Regions from separate parts of the Homo sapiens genome. Here region 2 is linked to region 1. Evidence: promoter capture Hi-C in human tissues and cell types (Jung and others, 2019). All regions are on one chromosome and are shown on one strand. The core of a region is centred on a gene start or on the middle of the fragment in contact, and the rest is flanking DNA. Distances in the headings are between cores, read along the strand shown. Region 1 holds the start of PAX7 (paired box 7). Region 2 has its middle 60 kb from the start of TAS1R2.

The links. The method cuts DNA at HindIII sites, captures the fragments that hold promoters and counts their contacts. A contact is called where the count stands out against the background at its distance.
Region 2: a contact is called between a fragment that was not itself captured here and the fragment with the promoter of PAX7 in region 1, in 3 of the 25 tissues and cell types used here (IMR-90 fibroblasts, aorta and mesendoderm cells).

The regions. Positions count from the first base shown.
Region 1 is chr1:18,628,594-18,632,281 of GRCh38, reverse strand. PAX7 (paired box 7) reads right to left here and starts at 1,436. Exons shown (of 9, transcript NM_001135254.2): 1 at 594-1,436. The coding sequence starts at 678. RefSeq lists enhancers at 1-105, 1-113 and promoters at 653-929, 653-1,563, 967-1,752. The HindIII fragment of the contact is 8,003 bases long and covers 1-3,688 here.
Region 2 is chr1:18,797,427-18,801,010 of GRCh38, reverse strand. No RefSeq gene overlaps it. Among named protein-coding and RNA genes, the nearest start is that of TAS1R2, 60 kb to the left of the region's middle. The HindIII fragment of the contact is 8,367 bases long and covers 1-3,584 here.

The DNA.
Region 1 (3,688 bases), core at 187-2,686:
AGTAAAAAGTTTTAGGGGGAAAATCATTACTAATTATTATTTCCAATTAGTTTGTTTCCAGGCGGAAAAGCAGGAGTGTTTGACTGTGGCTTCGGAAGAAATGGATAGCCGTGGTAGTTGAGGCATATAAAGTATCACCCATGGTAGGTGGTTCGAAATAAAGGACTGGAAGACCAATCCCGGGGGTGGAAAAAATAATTCAAAACAAGAGTAGAAAGCTGGCAGCCAGCGAGCCAGGAGAGCCGAGAAACTGTCAGGGAAGAAGTGTCTGGAAATAGTGGAAAGAGCTGAAATTCACCAGGACCTGATATTTACTAGGAGTCCAAATCTACCAGAATTTCAGCCCTGCGGGTAAAGACCGGCAGCTAGCGACCTGCGAAACGAAGGCCGCCGGGCAGTGAAACCCACGCAGAAGCGGACAAGTATGGGTCCCAGAAACTCCCTGGGTTCCGCGCCCGGACTGGGACCCAGAAGAGAACGGGATCCCTCTGCTATCGCCGGCGCCGCCACCGTCCCCTGGAGACCGCAGCCTCTCCAAGGACCCCGAGTTCCGGGCGGCGGAGTCGCGGCGAGGCCAGCCTGGGCGTTCTTACCTTCCAAAGGGAATCCCGTGCGGGGGTAGTTCTGCCCCGGAGCCGGCCGCATCATTCTCGGTACCGTGCCGGGAAGGGCCGCCATTCTTGCGCACGCCGGGGACGAATCCAAAGTCGGCAAAAATCGCTTCCCGTCCGCTCCCTTCACCCCTGCTGCGATCTCTTTCTTTCCGTCTTCTTCGTCTTCTTTTTTTTAACCTCTTCTCCCTCCCCTCCACACACACTCCCTACCCCCACCCCCCACCCCTGGCTGCAGTCAAACGCGTCCAGAAGCTGGGGAGGGGGGTGAGGTGGGGTGGAGGTTGGGGGGAGGGAAGGTGGCGACGACGAGGAAGTTCAAACAAACAAACACTCCAACCCCAAGTCCGCCTCTGCCGGCTGGCCTCGGCCAGAAGTTGTGCGGGCTGATGCGCCTGGCAGAACCCGGAGACCAGGCCCCGCGGCGGAGGGGGGCCGGGGGAACGCGGCCGGAATCGAGGCCGCCAGCCTCAGAGTGGCGAGCGCCGCGCTCTCGCGCTCTGGCGCTCTGGCGCTCGGGGCCAAAGTTTCCGAGCCCGGAGACTGCGGAGTGGATTTCGTTCTCGTATTTATTTATATATTTATTCTCTCGCTCTCGCTCCCTCCCTCTTCTCCACGCCTTCTTTCTCCGGACCACACTCGCTTCTCCCTCCACACCAGCTTTCACAGCCCCGTCCCCTAGGAGACCCGGGGACAGACGGAAGAAGGAGCCTCCTCGGGTTTCAGGGCTGGACGGAGGAGACAGGGGGTGACGGGGTTGGGGAAAGAGAAATGGAAAAGCGAGGGGGCGCGAGTGATCAGCTGGGTAAGTTGTGCAAAAGTGTTCACCGAAGTACGAGGAGGAGGAGGAGGAGGAGGAGGAGGAGGCAGTGAGCGCGATCTGATAGGTTCGGACTTTTCTTTTATTCATGAGGAGGGAAGGGGGCCAGGGCGCAAGGGAGCGGAGGACCAATAACGAAAAGAAATCGCCAACGAATATTTTTTTCCCTCTTTTCTAATCCCCGGCTCGACCTCGTTTTGGGGGAGAATTTGAACCGCCGTGAAAAGAGAGGGAGCCGATCCCGGCGAGTTGGGGGCTGGGGGAGAAGGGGAGGGGGCCAACTTTGTCCCAGTGCCTTCCTTTGATGAATGGGCCGGATCCGCCGAGTCCCCGGCCCCCAGGTCGCCCACGGCTGCTCTCGGAGTCCCGGCTGTATGGGAATGTCTGCCTCGGGTCCGGCGCCTCTCTGGAGTCTCGCCTTTTCTCTGGCCTCCGAGGGCCAGAGTCCGCCCTATTTCTCATCTTCTCCCTCGTCTTACACCCTCTGAAATTCCTCCAGTGAGGCTCCCCGGGAACCGGCCTAGGGTGACTTGAAGGGAGGAATTCTGACCTTTTCTGTGTAATGTCAGAGCCCCGGTGTCCGGTTCTTACTCTACCTTCCTGCCGCTCTGAGAAGCCCCCAGTAACCGTATCTGGTTCCGAGGCTTGGCAAAGTGGGTCTGCCAAGTGCTAGGCACAGGTTTCTTCCTCCCCTTCCAGTTCCGCCCCGTGCAGACGTCTCCAGCCGCCGCCGTCCTCCTCAGGCCCCCAGGCCGGGCCTATAACTCCTTTCCAGCAGGTAGTTGGGTTTACAGGGAGTTGGTGCTGGTGTGAGGATCTGGGGGCCCAAAGAGGTGGGAAATGGGAGGGAGGGAGCCCGTCAAGACTTGATACAGCTCTGAACTCACCAACTCTGAGCTCCTTGCTGGTGGGTTTGAGGGGACGCCCCAACTGAATGATCAGGAGTCAGGGTGGGGTGATCAGAGGTTCCTGAATTCTTCGCTTTCTGAAGCCAGGGTGACCAGTAGCCTCAACCTCGGGACACCGAGTCCTGGGGGCGAAACGCCCTCCCAGCGGGGCAGGACGCCACAACTGCAGGCCTTTTGTCTCCCGGGGGAAAGAGCGTCTCTGGCCCCACGCTGGAGGCAAAATACAATAAAATGAACCCAGCCCTCAATCTCACCCCCTGCCCGCCCTCTCTCGGCAGTGGGGTCAGCCTTGTCTTAGCCTGGGGCGCTCACCGCTGGCTGGCCCCAGGGTGTCCCCATCCCTCCCCTTCGCCTCACCTGTGACCTTTGCCCCTTGCAGCATGTGACAGATCTCCCTCCTCTCCCCACTCTCCTAGCACAAGGGGCTCATCAGATTTTGGGGGGGCCTTCTGGGAATGGGGGCCCTGATGAAAAACTTGTTGAGCTCATACTCTCTCTAACTGAGAAGACAGATGCCAAGTAGCTTTCGAATTGGAAGGGGGACACCGGGGTACTTTGCCTGGCCCAAGTTATGGGGCCCTCCCCCGGGAGAGATTGGGAGATCAAGCTTTAAGCCATAGCATGTGTGCCCAGGGAAGACAGCAACCCCCTTACATCACCAGCCTTGCTGGGGACCTGGCCTGCTTTGACCTCCATAGGTGGATATATATTCTCTGTGTGTATATATACATGTATTTGTATCATATACACTTATGCATACACACGTATAACACACACACATATATATTAGGTATATTGCATATTCATCCATTCATTCGTCACTAGCTGTCCTCTGCCTGGAAGGTTTCAAGGCACTTCTTCCCTGTATTTGTGGAATGGGCCAGTGTGCTTGCGTGTGAATATAGGCCTGTGCCCGGGTCTGTGTGTCAAGGTGCAGGTGGGTTTTGTGTGTAGGTCTGTTTGGGGTCAGTTTGAGTAAATGTGTGTTTCTAAGTGAGGGTCCATGTCTGTATTTCTGCTTTGAGGTCACCTCCAGGTTGCCTTGGTATGGCTCTAAGCGCGCGTCAGGAATGTGTGAGTGTGTGTTTAGGTCAATTCTCAAGTGAGAAAAGACCTCCAGGGTGTGCCAAGGGTGGGAGGCTCCCTCTCTTCTGGCCAGTGCTCATGTAGCATCTTGAGCTGAGTGGGGCGAGTGCATAGCTGGACACTTCTGCTGCCAGGGACCCTCAGAACCTCAGGAGTCCTGCACTGGGGCCACCTTGCCCACAGTGTGGTCCCTCACCCTCCCTGCAAAAGACTCACAGTAGTGGGTGCAGTAGCGACACAGGCCCCCAGGGTTTCTGCAGCTC
Region 2 (3,584 bases), core at 155-2,654, 170 kb before region 1:
TCCTTTTGAAAAATCCAGCATGGACTGGAAAGCATATGGCCACAGTTCAGTGGGGTTAGGGAGGGGATCAGGGTGTCCGGTAGCGCTGCTAAGCAAGGTCCTTGAGTTGGGTGAGAAGTTGCCCTAGGTTGGGGGCAACCTAGGATGTGGGTGAGACCTGGGGAAGGTGAGGCCCACAGAACCTTCCCTACTGGGGCTTTTCCTCCCCACTTCCACATTCCCCTAACTCTCTTTCTGTCCACCCTTGTTGTTCTCTGATCCACTTATTCAGCAGACTCACTGGGGGCCCTTGGTGCCAGGCCCTGAGAGGGCCCCTGAGGTACAAAGATAAATATGGCACTATTTTAGGTCACAGGTGACTGCGAGCACCCTGAGCACAGGGAGCTGGCCTACCTTGTTCATCACAGCATTCCCAGCCCCTGTTGAATGAACGAATGAATGAATGCACAGATGCAGCCATGCCACCCCTGTCTCTGGGAACTCACACACTGGTGAGATCATCAGTGGCTACAGTGGCGTGGAGCCAAAGGGAGGGAGGGATCAACTCTGCCTAAGGGGTCCAGGGAAGCTTTCCTCAAGAGGTGGCGCCTGACCTGGACATGATAAGGGCCGGAACAGGAGGAAGGAAGAAGGAAAGGCCTTACATCTGCAGAAACCAGCCTTTATTTGGGGCCAGATGACCTCACTTCTCCCCTCCTTACTTCCTGAGACTTGGTGGGGGGTGGTGGTCAGTGATGAGCCTCTTGGGCACGAGGCCCTGGTGAGCTGCTCCCTTGGGTCAGGTTGGGGTGGGGCTTGGTCAAAGCCTTGCTGGAGGGTGCTAGCATGGGCCCAAGTGCAGCTTGGGGATGGCCTAGAATCCTCATGGAGCCCAGAAGTGTCCTTAGAAATTGGCCGCCCTAGTGGTTCCCAACTGGGTTCCTTGAGGCCTTGGGATTCCACTGAGGCACCTCTGCAAATGAGAAGGGGACTGAAGGCCCCAGCCCCAGGCACAGCAGCACCTCTATTCCATCTTCCCCTTCCGTGGTTTCTTGTTAGAGGATCAAAATCCTTACCGTGGCCAACAGGGACAATGGCCCAGCCCCCCTGGGCCTTTTGGTCCTCCCCGTATACCAGCTTCCCAGTCCCAGCCATGCTATTCCCTGAGTCTGGGACATCCAGTGGATTCCTATGTATCCAGGTCTTTCCTTCCTTAGGGAAGCCCTCCTGATCCCCCAGGAAGACCCTGCCCCATCCTCCCAGCCCCTGGCACCCCGGTCTGCCCTGGCACCCTTTCACTTCCCATCTCACATTCCTTATTGAAATTGTTTGTTCTCTGCCTTCCCACCCACAGTTAGCTCCAGGGGGCAGGAAGGAGGCCTGTCTCCTTTGCTTCTCTGCCCCCAGGGGCCAGCCCAGGGCCCGCAGCAGGAGGTGCTGAGTGAATTCTTGAAATAAACTGTCTTGTTTAGCCCCCTTGGATTGCAGATGGACTGAGGTCCAGAGTGGGATGTGACTGTCCCAGGGTCATGCAGCAGGTCAGCAGCAGCGGCAGCCTGTGTGTCCTCTGTCCCAGGCTCCTCCCACTGATCCCTGTGACCTCTCCAGGGCTCTTCTCTCACCTTCCCTGGGTGGATCCTCTCCTGTTCTGTCCCCTACTCCCTGTCTTAATCCTTGCACTTCCTCTGAACACTCTCTGGAACATCTGCAAGCTGGGATGAGCATGGGAAGCTGGCAGTGGCTTCGTTTCCCCCTGGAACGCAGGAAGTACCCCACCCTCAGCTCTGACCACTTGGCCTAGACCCTTCTTCTCTAAGCCCCAGCCTGGGAAAGGCTCCCCTGGCCCCAGTGTGGCATTCCTGGCCCAGCCTTGCCAAGGGCCTCAGGGGGTGAAGGCCAGGACATGGCGGGCAGGGGGTGCTGGCATCCAGACCCTCATGGGTGAGGTCAGGGTATTTTCAGGAAGCGGCTTCCTGTCCCAGCTGCTCCCCCTTCTCACTTGTGATGGGGGCCCCAATTACAAGAGGCGGTCAGGGCAGAGAGGGCTTGGTGAGGAGTGGCTGGCGGCCAGGGTGGGATGAATGATGATACCAGAGAGGCCAGACCACTTCTGGGAAACACCCTTGAAAATCGATTCTTGGTGCAGAAAACCAGCAGGCAAAGCGGGGTCTAGCGGGGTCTTTCGGGGTCTTGTGGGCTGTGGCATGTTCCACTCTCCTCTGGGGCTGCCATTCCCAGGGAGGCTCGGTTCCACCCGGTTCTGCGAGGTTCCCAAGGAACCACTGCCCGTCTGGATGTACAAGGCTGCCGCCAGCTAGGCAGGGACAAGAACAACGATAACAGCCGTGATGTTTACTTAGCAATTCCTACCTCACCATGGTCCAGGAGGGATTTGAGGCAGCGTTCAGTTTTGCAAATGATCAAATGCTCTCACACAGTAGGCACACAGCAAATATCGGTGGAATATTACCATCTTATTCCATTGGATCTTCACAACAACCTTGACAAGCGGGAAGTATTACTAATTCCCATTTTGCAGATGAGGAATCTGAGGCTCCCAGGTTAAGAGTTTTGTGCTAGGGCTCCTAGTGTGTGTGAGCAGCCCTGGGGCTTTGACTGCAGACCCCACTGTCTACAGTGGGCAAGTGGGGGTGCGTGTGGCAGAAGGCCCTGGAGGCGGCTGCCGTCCTGGGCAGCCAGGAGAGTGCCAAGGAGACAGAAATCGTAGACTGTGGTGCCACAGGCTCCAGAAGAAACAGGCAACCCACCAAGGAACACTTTCTAGTGTTTGCTTATTTTTTCTTCTGATTATTACAGGAAGGCATGCTTATTAGAGGAAATACAGAGAAGTAGAAAGAAGAAAATAAACACCACCACCCAATGGCAAATGAGACTAAAGCAGAGGCGAGGGGCAGGTGGGGGGGGGGTTGAAAGTAGGACACTTTGGGCTTAAATTTCTCTTCTGCCCCTGGGACAGCGACTCCAATTTCCTGAGACTCAGTTTCCTTTTTTGTAAGATGGGAATAAGAATCCCTTTCAACATCATGGGAGGATTGTCTGAATAAGATGAGCTGATGCTTGTAAAGAGCCTTTCAGGGATCATGTGAGTCTACCATGGTGTTATTATGGAAAAGCGGCCTCCACCTTCCCCACAACCGTCATCCCATCATTAGAGCCATGCTGTATAGACTTTTGAATCCTGCTTAAAAAAAATCTTTATTTAGAAATCACTATGGATTCGCAGGGATTGGCAAAGATAGTACAGAGGGGTTCCATGTACCCTTCACCCAGTTTTCCCCAATAGTGACATCTTACATAGCTCTAGTTTGATATCAAAGCCAGGCAGTTGACATTGGGACAATGTGTTGTATAGTTCCCTGCTTTTTTTCTTTTCTTTTTTTCTTTTTTTTTATTCTTTCTTTTTTTTTTTGAGACAGAGTCTTGCTCCATTGCTCAGGCTGGAGTGCAGTGAGGTGATCTCGGCCCACTGCAACCTCTGCCTCCCAGGTTCAGGTGATTCCCCTGCCTCAGCCTCCCGAGTAGCTCGGACTACAGGTGTGTGCCACAATGCCTGGCTAATTTTTGTATTTTTAGTAGAGACAGGG